3 separate regions of the Homo sapiens genome follow, and all the other regions are linked to region 1. Evidence: promoter capture Hi-C in 16 types of primary human blood cells and fetal thymus (Javierre and others, 2016). All regions are on one chromosome and are shown on one strand. The core of a region is centred on a gene start or on the middle of the fragment in contact, and the rest is flanking DNA. Distances in the headings are between cores, read along the strand shown. Region 1 holds the start of KRT71 (keratin 71). Region 2 has its middle 16 kb from the start of KRT78. Region 3 overlaps KRT79 (keratin 79).

Evidence for each region. The method cuts DNA at HindIII sites, captures the fragments that hold promoters and counts their contacts. A CHiCAGO score of 5 or more calls a contact.
Region 2: a fragment that was not itself captured here is called in contact with the fragment with the promoter of KRT71 in region 1 in 9 of 17 cell types (endothelial precursors, naive CD4 T cells, total CD8 T cells and 6 more); the score reaches 9.4 in endothelial precursors.
Region 3: a contact is called between a fragment that was not itself captured here and the fragment with the promoter of KRT71 in region 1, in 8 of 17 cell types (endothelial precursors, naive CD4 T cells, total CD8 T cells and 5 more). The highest score is 8.0, in endothelial precursors.

The regions. Positions count from the first base shown.
Region 1 is chr12:52,551,050-52,555,106 of GRCh38, forward strand. KRT71 (keratin 71) reads right to left here and starts at 2,096. Exons shown (of 9, transcript NM_033448.3): 1 at 1,588-2,096. The coding sequence starts at 2,028. The HindIII fragment of the contact is 3,012 bases long and covers 1-2,281 here.
Region 2 is chr12:52,862,852-52,866,908 of GRCh38, forward strand. No RefSeq gene overlaps it. Among named protein-coding and RNA genes, the nearest start is that of KRT78, 16 kb to the left of the region's middle. The HindIII fragment of the contact is 5,339 bases long and covers 1-4,057 here.
Region 3 is chr12:52,817,621-52,821,677 of GRCh38, forward strand. KRT79 (keratin 79) reads right to left here. Exons shown (of 9, transcript NM_175834.3): 9 at 3,788-4,057. Among named protein-coding and RNA genes, the nearest start is that of KRT4, 5.5 kb to the left of the region's middle. RefSeq lists an enhancer at 599-1,100. The HindIII fragment of the contact is 1,770 bases long and covers 874-2,643 here.

The sequences.
Region 1 (4,057 bases), core at 846-3,345:
TCTAGCCCGTCTTCCAGCATTTGGTCTGGTTTAACCAATCCTGAATTTTTCATGTGATCTACGAGGCTGAGCATTAACCACAGAGTAAATCCTGCATCTGAGACACCACAATACACACCTGCACTACTGAACACATCTGGATGCCGAAAGGATTTACCCGTCTTCTCTGGCTGCCTGAGGTTAAGGGACTGATCTCTGGAGACTGAAATTATTTGGGAACTGTCCAAGCCTTTCAGCCTCCTTCCCCTCCCTCTGGGCAGACCATCTTTATAAACAGGATGTGACCCTCCTCATGTTCATCTTTCTTCCCATGTCTCCAGACTTTATCCTTCTGTAGGTTTTGACCAGCCGAGCCAAGAATCAATCAGTCCACTCCCATCACCCAGACCCCATCTCAGAACACTTTGATCTTGCAGATATGAAAAGGCTTAGAAGAATAAGAAGCCGCAGAGCCAGTCCTAGCCCCTGAGGCTGAGCCGAGGGCAGCAGGGACTCCTCCAGGCAGGAAGTCTGAGCTGCAGGAGCTGGCTAAGCTCTGATGGCCACATGACCGTCTCACCCATAGACTTTGTCCTGGGTTGACCCGTCCTTGGTGCCTGACTGCCACAGAGCCAACAGAACCCTCCAGTCTCCTCCTCTGGGTCTGGAGGCAAAAGGCTGAGGGTCCAGCCTCACCCTTCCCTTTCCCCAAATGACCCTGGGAATGCCATTTACCTCCATGCCTTCAGTGACTCATACGATAGGGATAATCATTTCTTCTCTGCCAGAAGTCAGGGGCCTATCTGGACTGTGTCATCTCTTCAGGTCTCTAGACACCTTTGATTCCTCCCCTGAGCTTCCCTCCCCCACATTCCAGAGATAAGAAATGAGAGTCACAATCACAATCATTTTTGGAGTATTTAGTGTGCGTCAGGCTTGTGACAAGATCTTCACCTGCATTTTCTTTTATAAGCCTGACAACAACCCCAAGACAGAAGTTATTATCTCCATTTTAGAGATGAGGAGATGGCAACACAGACAGGCAGATCACCTTCCCAGAGCCACTCAGCTGTGGCCAGCAGTGAGCACAAGAGCACCGTGGAGTCCCCTTCCCCAGTGCCCTCTTCTGCCTCTCAAGAAAGTCTTCAACTGACTGGAGCAAATGCCCAATCAGAGGGCCTGAAGCGGCCCCTTCCTGCTGCTCCTGATCCGCTGGGCAAGTGACCAGTGGGCAGGGCAGCATGCCAGGGGAGGAGGACAGCTTCCCTGCTTACTCTGGGCGAGACTGGCTCTCACAGGCCTTTTCTGCACACGGCCTGCAGGCCTAGCAATGGCACCAAGCTAGCCCTCAAGAGGAAGGACCACATCTCTTGCTGGGAGCCCTGAGAAGCCTCTGCCAGTAGAAATTGACCTGCCTCTGTTTTCTCTCTGGAAAGACAACACAGAGAACCTTACACAGGTCACCCTGTTGATGGGATGTACCTACCTTGTCCACAGTAAAGTCTTCCTCACATCTAACCTCAATCTCTCCTGCTGTAACAAAATCGTATGTTCCAAGAAGAGAAGAGGAGGGCTGTTCACAAGTTCCCCAGGCCCTAGAAGACCCACCTTGTCGATGAAGGAGGCGAACTTGTTGTTCAGAGCCTTGATCTGCTCTCGCTCCTGGGCACGCACTTTCTGGATCTCGGGGTCCAGCTCCACGTTGAGGGGGGCCAGGAGGCTCTCATTGACGGTAACCTGGTGGATGCCTCCAGGTGGGCATACAGTTGGGCACACAGGCCCCAGGGCCACACTGCCAAACATGCTTCCAGCAAAGCCACTGGCCCGGCCCCGGCCAAATCCATAGCCTCCACTCTTCCCGCTGCCACTGGCCACATTGAGGCTCCGGACACCCCCCAGGCTGTAGAGGCTCCGGCTGCCAAAGCCCCCACTGAGCCCTTTGCTCCCTGCCCGGAAGGAGGATGAGCTGCCCCCTGAGAGCACAGCTGAGCAGCCACTGAAGCCCCCCTTGGCGGCAGCTCCCGACTTGCAGGTGAATTGGCGGCTCATGTTGCTGGTGGAGACAAAGCTCAGATGCAGGAGGGAGGAAGGCAAAATCCCAAAAGGTTCTGCTGGTTGTAGTGAGGACTGGCAGGTGCCTTTATATGTGCTTGGCACTGGGGCTTGTGGATGGGCAGTCAAGAGCTTAATTCGTGGGTTTGGCTTGCCTGGGAGCAAGAAGTCATTTTCTCTATGCTGAGCTAGAGATCAAGCCCTCTCCACCTCTGAAACAACATGAAACCTTCAAATTGCTGGGCTTGCAAGCTTTGCTCATGTAATTTGGGTCTTATCTAATTAACCTGCTGTTATAGGGTAATTTGCCCCAGGCCCTGGCCTCTCCAGGGGGATGTCACTGGCACTGCACCATCCCTATCCTGATTAATCTTCTCTGGGTTGTTGGCTTCCTCCTGGGGATGCAGCAGGTGAAGACAGGATGGACTTTCCTGGATAGTTCAGGACACTGGGTAGAGTACTGGGGCCTCCAACTTCTGTTCTCCTCCTTCCTGGAAAGGGACTGATCAGGCATTACCTCTCCCCAGGCCTCCTGGAAACATAACCCATAGAGGGCAGCTGCTCTCACTCATGGGGTATTAGGAGGTGGAGTGACCCTCTCGCTAGCATGGGACAGAAGCAGCCCAGGCCAGAGCCAACCACGGGCACTATCCTCACTTCTCCCCCCTCAAACACCCATAATAAAGCAGGCTGGAGGCTTCAAACACTGGAGAAAATGAGGACGAGAAAAGGAGGATGGAGTTGGGGCAGGTGGCTGAGAAATTCAGGGACTTGACTGGAAGGAGGTACAGAGAAGACAAAGACAGAGGCTGGCCCATGGCCTGGAGGGTTATGGAGATTCCTGGGTGGTCCACTTCCTCATTTCTGTCTCTCCTCCAATGTGTATCTGCTAATAAGACTAGGAACAACTTGAGGACAGTAATCATCTGTTTAGAGTTCAAATAAAGAAGCTGTTATCAACATGAAACTTAACTCCTATTGCCTCTGTCCAGGCCCAAGTGAGCCAAGAACAAGGCTGGCTGAGCCCTCCCCAGGAGTGCAAGCCTCCAGGCAGGCTCAGACCAGAAAGACCCAATGGGGGCGACCCAGTAAGCACGATGTCATTCTACTCCAAACAGTCCTTTGATGCCAGCCCCAGAGACTCTGGCTGCAGCCCCTGCTTCCTAGCCACTGGCTCCTGTGTTGGGCCCCAGCTACTCCCATGATCGCCATTGCCACTGTGGCCCTATTCAACCCAAGGCAGCTCTGTCCCTGAAGATCACCCTTGCCCAGAGATCCCTGCTGGAGCCCCATGGGTGAACAGCAGCTCTTTGCTGGGTGGGGCACAGGAGGGAAGAAAATCTGGAGACAGGCTGGTTTGGGGCTCTCTCTCATATTGTTTAGGGGAAGAGCCTGGACTCCAGTCCCTCCCAATCCTCTGCATTCCTTCCTCTACTCTTGCCCCTGCCATTTTGTCTTCTTTGCTCTTACTGAAACTACCCGAATTTTCCTATCCCTGCCTTCTCTCTTTCTCACCTTCTCTCTCCATCCCTCCTCATCCCTCCCATCCATCTTCCCTCCATCCTTCCCTCTCAGCCTTTCGCCATCTCTTGTTCTGTCACTTCCCCATCCTGCTCTCCTCCAGGAGGTCTTCCTGCACCCACACAGGCCAGGTCTGAGCTCTCCTTACCTCCCTCCGCTCTGAACACATCCTTAGCATGTGCTGGTGGGGCTGCAACTCTGTGACAGCTCCCATGGGGATCCTCTGAAGCCATGTCACATGTCATCTTAGTTTTTCTTTGTAAGGCTAGCAGAGTCTTCTCCAGATTAGAGACCACCTAGTGCACTCTGAGATGGAGCAGGGACGCCCTCGTAGGGGCCTTCAGGTCCCCTCAAGCATGGAAATAAAGGACAATCTTGAGTTCCTTCAAGGGAAATTCTGGGCACCTTGCTAGCCTGGAGAAATAAATAAGCAACCTGACAAGCAAGAAGATAACAGTAGCCCAAAACAACAGCCACGAAAGCTGGAATCGTGGGATGTTTGGTT
Region 2 (4,057 bases), core at 894-3,393, 310 kb after region 1:
AGCGGTTCACACCTGTAATCCCAGCACTTTGGGAGGCCGAGGTGGGTGGATCACCTGAGATCATGAGTTCAAGACCAGCCTAACCAATATGGTGAAACCCCGTCTCTACTAAAAATACCAAAAAGTTAGCCAGGCGTGGTGGTGCAGGCCCCTATTCCCAGCTACTCAGGAGGCTGAGGCAGGAGAATTTCTTGAACCCAAGAGGCAGTTTGCAGTGAGCCGAAATCGCACCATTGCACTCCAGTCTGGGTAACAGAGTGAGACTCCAACTCAAAAAAAAAAAAAAAAAGATGTAGAGGGAGAAGATCCTAAGCCTTGTGGTGCTTCCTTCTCTTTATATAAATAATATTCAGAATTAAAAATGTTAAATCAACAGACAATAAAATAAAATCAGAAAAAAGAAAACTCTTCTAAAATACTGTCACCTAGAAGTAGCCACTATTTACATTTTAGTATTTAACCTTCCAGGTGTTTCTATATACAAATATCTTTCAATTTATTCAGTCAGCGCATATTTATTGGACACTTACTATGTGCCAGGCACTATTCTAACAACGGAGATATAGCAGTAAACAAAACAGATCATTGCTGAGTGCAGTGGCTCATGCCTGTAATCCCAGCACTTTGGGAGGGCAAGGCAGGAGGATGGCTTGAGTCCAAGAGTTTGAGGCCAGCCTAAGCAACATAGTGAGACTCTGTCTCTACAAAAAATCAAAAATTAGCTGGGCATGGTGGCACACACCTATAGTCCCAGTTACTTGGAAGACTGAGGTGGGAGGATCACTTGAGCCCGGGAGGTTAAGGCTGCATTGAGCTATGATTGCACCAATGCACTCCAGCCTGGACAGCAGAGTGAGACCCTGCCTCTAAAAAAAACATAAATAAGTAGAAGGGCCGGGCGCAGTGGCTCACGCCTGTAATCCCAGCACTTTGGGAGGCCGAGGTGGGCGGATCACGAGGTCAGGAGTCGAGACCATCCTGGCTAGCACAGTGAAACCCCGTCTCTACTAAAAATGCAGAAAATTAGCCAGATATGGTGGCACATGCCTGTAGTCCCAGCTACTCAGGAGGCTGAGGCAAGAGAATCGCTTGAACCCAGGAGGCAGAAGTTGCAGTGAGCCGAGATCACGCCATTGCACTCCGGCCTGGGCAACAGAGCGAGACTCCATCTCAAAAAAAAAAAAAAAAGTAGAAGGAATACATTCTAAGATAATGATAAAAAGTAGAGTAAATATACAAGCCAGTAACATAGTCCTTTACTACCATGATCAAGTAATAATATGTACTGTATGTAATTTCATGTGCTATATATTGATACAATTGGCAGCACAGTAGGTTTTTTACACCAGCATCTTCACAAACACGTGAGTAATGCCTTTTGATACATTATGATGGCTACGATGTCAATAGGCAAGAGGAATTTTTCAGTTCCATTATAATGTATGGAACCATTGTCATATATGCACCATACATACAACAGAGACCTTGTTATGCAATGTGTGACCATACTCATGTGTCTCATATAGCAGTATATTCTACTGCAATAGATGCATCATCTATTCATATTAATACGTATTTCCAGGCCCAGTGTGGTGGCTCACTCCTGTAATCCCAGCACTTTGGGAGGCCGAGGCAGGTGGATCACTTGAGGTCAGGAGTTCGAGGCCAGCCTGGCCAACATGGTGAAACCCTGTCTCTACTAAAAATACAAAAATTAGCCAGACATGGTGACGGGTGCCTATAATCTCAGCTACTGGGGAAGCTGAAGCAGGAGAATCATTTGAACCAGGGAGGCAGAGGTTGCAGTGAGCTGAGATCATGCCATTGCACTCCAGCCTGGGTGACAGAGTGAGTCTCCATCTCAAAAAAAAAAAAAAAAAAAGCCAGGCACAGTGGCTCACACCTGTAATCCCAACACTTTAGGAGGCTGGGATAGGTGGATCACAATACGAGGTCAGGAGTTCGAGACCAGCCTGACCAACATGGTGAAACCCTACTAAAATATAAAAATATAGTTTTTATATCTACTAAAAATATAAAATTAGCCAGTCATGGTGGCGCACGCCTGTAATCCCAGCTACTCAGGAGGCTGAGGCAGGAGAATTGCTTGAATCCAGGAGGCAGAGGTTGCGGTAAGCCAAGATTGTGCCACTGCATTCCAGCCTGGGCAACAGAGTGAGACTCTGTCTCAAAAAAAAAAAAAAAAAAAAAAAAAAAAAAAAAAAAAATATATATATATATATATATATATATATATTTCCCATAAGTGGGATCATATTACACATATGAATTTAAGCAGGCTTTCCCCCCATATCTGTCAATAAACACATCCTTAGATTACTGTGAAAGGCTCAGAATATTCTCTTGCAAGATTCTCAGGGGTTTTCACAAGTCCACTGCCTGATATCTTCCCCAGAGGAGATCTGAGCCTTGGTCTAGAAACCTCATCTGATCACAGACACACACACGCACAGGCACACGATCACGCATACACACACTGGAGTCCATAGGAGCCAGAGATGGTGGTTCACCAGGCAGCCCAGTTTAATCCAGTCCTGCTCTCAGACACCTGTCCAGGATTTTCCAGGGCCCAGACCCATTCCCGGTATTTCCTTGCAAGCAGGAGCAGGAGCAGGAGCCAGTTTCTCCCACTCTTGACTCCCCCTGCAGGTGGCCAGGATTCTTGCAACCCAGATGCCTGGGAGCTGGGCTGGACGCCTGGAATGGAAGCAAGGGGCAGTTCATGATCTTCCTGGAAGCCTCTTCTGTGCCACCACCTCCCTGGTGCCTGATGTGGGGATAAGGCCAGAGGCCCCCAAATGGGGACTCAGAGCGCTGGTGATTCCCAGGCCTTTTTCTAGACCTTGAGAAGTCCAAGTAGGCCCTGGGCCAACCTGGGAAAATTCACAGTGCATAGACTCTCTCGGAAGCTCTCTTGGGATCCTGGAGACGCCTTGGGCAGAACACAAAATGAGGCTGAGGATCAGGGAGAGAGGGGCCCTAGGGGCTGATGGTCAAGATCAGATCAGGGGTCTGACACTATGGGTTCAGACACTGTCTTCACTACGGCCTAGCCATGCGGCCTCAAGCTAGCGACTTAACCTCTCTGTGCCTTCCTCCATTTTCCAGCTATCATAAGGGGATAATCGGCCAGGCATGGTGGCTCATGCCTGTAATCCCAGCACTTTGGGATGCTGAGGCGGGTGAATTACCTGAGGTCAGGAGTTCGAGACCAGCCTGGCCAACATGGCAAAACCCCATCTCTACTACAAATACAAAAATTAGCCAGGCGTGGTGGCAGGCACCTGTAACCCCAGCTATTCAGGAGACTGAGGCACAAGAATCACTTGAACCTGGGAGGCTCGGGTTGCAGTGAGCCAAGATCGCCCCACTGCACTCCAACCTGGGTGACAGAGCAAGACTCAGTCTAAAAGAAAAACAAAAAATCCGGGCGTGGTGGCTCATGCCTGTAATCCCAGCACTTTGGAAAGCTGAGGCGGGTGGATCACCTGAGGTCAGAAGTTCGAGACCAGCCTGACCAACATGGAGAAACCCCATCTCTACTAAAAATACAAAATTAGCCAGGCATGGTGGTACATGCCTGTAATCCCAGCTACTCCGGAGGCTGAGACAGGAGAATCACTTGAACCCGGGAAGCAGAGATTGCGGTGAGCTGAGATCACGCCATTGCACTCCAGCCTGGGCGACAAGAGCGAAACTCTGTCTCAAAAATAAATAAATAAATAAGGAGGGATAATCATTCCTATATCCTAGGGCTGTTGTGTGTGTTAACCAAGATGACACGTGCAGAGTGCTCAGAACAGTGCTTAGCACAGCAGTGCCCACCAACTATTCGATTTTTTTTTTTTTTTTTTTTTGAGACAGAGTCTCGCTCTGTCACCCAGGCTGGAGTGCAGTGGTGCTATCTCGGCTCACTGCAAGCTCCGCCTCCCAGGTTCATGCCATTCTCCTGCCTCAGCCTCCAGAGTAGCTGGGACTACGGGCGCCCGCCACCAGGCCCAGCTAATTTTTTGTATTTGTAGTAGAGACAGGGTTT
Region 3 (4,057 bases), core at 509-3,008, 270 kb after region 1:
TGCCATCGCTGATACAAGAAGGAAGATGAAGGAAAGGCAGCGGTGCCTCTTGGGTAGAAGGGATTCTCTCTTGGAACTACTGTTATATGCTGAACACTAGGTGCTTCTTCCAACAACCCAGTCAAAGAGGTGCTTTGCTATGTCCAGTTTGGAGCTGCAGATATTGAGGCTCAGAGGGGTATGTAACTTGCCTGAGATCACACAGCCAGGAAGTGGTAGAGATAGGAAGTCAGTACTATCTGTCTGACTTCAAAGCTTGTGACCTTACAATGTATAAAACGGTAGGTATAATGTTTTATATGAGTGACTGGCCCACACAGAATATGCAGGGAAAAAAATACACAGCAACTTATACAGCCCTGTACCTCATGGTCCACCAAGACAGCCATGGGGTCTGGCCAGCAGGCTGCAAGCTCTGCAGATGCAGCTCCGCTCCTTTTTGTCCTTACCCTCAGCACATGGTCAGTTGCTTGGTTGATGTGGCCCTGTCCTTACAAGTACCCAATAAGGTATGACACTGTCCTGAGGGGCCAGTTTTGTATCCTCCAATTAACTAAATCCAAATTAATTTCATGACAAACCCTACCATAAACCCAATCCAAACAAGAAGAAAGTTCTAGTCTAGAGCCACATTCTGTGTCCTTATTATTAAATCAGAATTGCAAGAAGCTCACAAAATCTTCAAACTGAGCCTGAGAAACCGAAGGTAGACCTAAGGAAGAACTTCCTATGCAAGAGCGCCTTTACACCCTAGAGTGAGAGAGAAAGAGAGATGAGTTTCTTTCCCTGAAAACGGGGAAAGACATTGCCTTCATATGTGGGCCAGAGGCAGGTGGCTGAACAAGGCGCCACTACCCAGCAGCCACAGCTGGAAGCTTGTCCCCTGCCCCTCCCCAGACCTCCACACGCAGATTCTGCTACTGCCCTCGGTGACCCTTCCTTGTTTGGCAGCTGTTCCCAATCTTTTCACAGAGGGATGAGCAGCCGACAGGGGTGTGGAGCCAGGCGGAGGGAGTGTTTGCTCAGGGCTTTCTGGGTAAGGGAGGCAAGCCCTTACATTCAGCCCTGGGATTAAGGGATCCTGAGGGCTTCTGTCACTCTCATCTCCAAACCCACTGTGTGGTGTGGGAAAGTGCTCCTGCCCTCCCTGGCCAGGCGGGCACCCTCACTCCATTCGGTCACCCAACCTCAACTGCCCCACCGGGCCTGAGTCATTCTTGGGGAACCAGAGACAACACGGGGATCAGAGATTCTGCAGAAAAGGGCCATCAGCGTTTTAGGGAGAGGCCAGTGAGGGCAATGAGAGGACGGGCACTCCTGAGAGCCAGGTATGGGGGTCTGTACCCAGGGGCTCCTCTTTCCCCGGGCCGGAGAGCTGCCCCTGCTGGCCTCCTACCCCAGGCATATACAGGCAGGGGCTTCCCAGCATGTTCTGGCAGCAAAAGCACCCTCATAAACAAAATCACGTGCACAGCCTCATGAGTAAAACAGATAAGGAGAGATGATCCAGTTGGTGCAGAGGAGGGACCATGATCCTTCTCACCTGCTGACCTCCCCCTGCACCCCTGAAAGCAGCCCTTAGGGTCCTCAGTTTGGAAACCCCTGGGTCTGGGCCATTCCCCTCCTTCGACAAGTATGTCTAAGCAGCGCATTATTGTTGGTGGGCCCCCCTGGGCTGCAGTATAATCTCTGAGGCTTTTTTCCATGACAATCAAAAGTTTCTATTGTTCAGTTTTTGAGCCCTAAATATAATTTTTTTGAGACAGGGTCTCCCTCTGTCACCCAGGCTGGAGTGCAATGGTGCAATCACAGCTCACCGCAGCCTCAACAGCCTCAAGTGATCCTCCCACCTCAGCCTCCCAAGTAGCTGGGACTACAGGTATGCATTATCAAACCCAGCTAATTTTTGTATTTTTTTGTAGAGGCAGAGTCTCACCATGTTGCCAGGCTTGTCTTGAACTCCTGGGCTCAAGTGATCCACCTGCCTCAGCCTCCCAAAGTGCTGGAATTACAGGCAGGAGCCACAACACCTGGCCTATGATCTCACTAAAACTGATTTTTTTTTTAACACTGCCACTAAGTTACCGTGGCTTTGGATACATTCTTCCCCTTCCTCAACCTGTTTTCTTATCTATGAAATAAAAAGTTTGGAGTCGATTACATCCAATGCCCCTTCTAGCTCCAGCATCCCCAGGTCTCCATTCCTTTTTCTATATAAGCAAAATAACCTGGTGCTTAAGAGCTTGGGCTATGGAACCAGATTGCTTGGATTCCACACCTAGCTCTGCTACTTCCTAGCTGTGTGACCTTAGGCAAGTTACTTAACCACTCTGTGCCTTATTTTCCTTATAGGCAAAATTAGAATGATAATAGTATTTATATTATAGGCTGTTGTGAAGAGAATCAGTTAAAGGCTTGACAGCAGTTCTGGCACACAGTTGGCACTCAGTGAGCATTAGCAAGTATTCCTCAAAGTGTTGTACATGGGGTGGACTATACTCCATCTGTCTGAGAAGGGAAGCTAGAGACCACCCAAGCTGGTGAGGCAGAGCTGACCCTAAACCGCTAGGCCTTTGTGTTCCTAAGCTGGAGGTTAGGGTTTGGCTGAAAATCCCTCTGCTGGCCTTCCACAGCCCTGGAGGAAGCTTTCTCAGGGCTCTTCGGGGCTCCTCTGAGGAGGACAGAGTGATCAGGCCGGAAGAGTGTGGGATGCATCCCAGCAACTGCCAGGAGCCCTAAGGTTGCCAAGGAAGGGAGCGGAGTGGTGACAGCCTCGGGTCGGGCCAACTGGTTTGGTAGCAGGGTGGGGAGGGCCTGAGAGGTGCAGGGTTGAGAGGCCAGCCAATTGGGGAATCACTTGGGTACAGCTTGAGGAGTGGGGTCCAGACTCAAAGTAGAGAACTGTGGAGATGAAGAGGAAAGAAGGTGATACCAAGAGACGCATGGAGGGAGGAGCAGTAAGATTTGGCGAGTGATGGAGGCAGGAGTAGGACGGAGGTAGCTTCTGGGGTGACAGGACAGAGGGCTTGAAATTGCAGCCCTGGACACTACTGACCCACCTCCAGCCAGCTGGATGACTACAGCATGAGAGGTCACTTCTGTGAGCGTGAATCGCCTCACCTGTAAACTGGAACACCACATGCCCACTACTGAACCTAGGGCTGTGGTGATGGTCACAGGCAAAGTAATGTATGTGTAAACCACAAAACCCAATTAAGTGTGGATTTTTCTTGCCGACTGGATGTGGGGGCTGAGAGAGACATCACTGAGGCCAAGAGGATAAGCTGGGAATCCAGAAGTCAGGGAGTGGGAAAGCAAAGAAACCTGATTCCTGAAAGGGCCTCTATAAGCCAGATGCTTTACACATGTTCTTATCACAACCCACTTTTACAAAGGAGGAAACTAAGGCTCAGAGAGGTTAGGTAACTTGACCGAGGTCATACAGCTAGTAAGTGGCAGAACTTGGATTTAAACCCAAGTTGCCTAGTTCTGAAGCCTAAGACCTCTCCACTGAACAAAGCATGCTGTCTGCCCCTACAGAGTTAGTGGGAGGCTGAACAGGCACCAGGGGTGGCTGGTTAATAGGCAGCCACTTAGCCAGGTCTGGCCTTGAGCAGCTTACATATTCCCTCTGAGCCTTGGTCTCCTCTTGTGAGCCATGTACAGCCCTGGAGTGGCGATGGTATCAAACTAATGTACCTAAGTAAGCATGGCGATTGGGATGTGGTGAGTGTGTGATTATTGCTGTGTCAGGCATCAGGATGTTAATCAATGGACACAATTTCAGTTCCCCAGGCAGGACAGACTGCAGCCACAGACAGCTAGCTGCAGTTGCACCATTTATTGAGACACAGACAGGGAAGGGGGATGTGGGTAGATTCAGGGAGAGGGTGGGTCTGGTGGGGGACTGGGGAGGTTGAAGGGTCTTTGGGGACCACTCCCAATTTCTCTCTCTCCTAATGGCTTGAGAAATTCAGCCTCCTCTCGGTGGTCAAAAGGTCACCCCCAAGTCACCCAAGCACATCACTCAAGCTGGCAACTTTAACCTTCCCTCCCA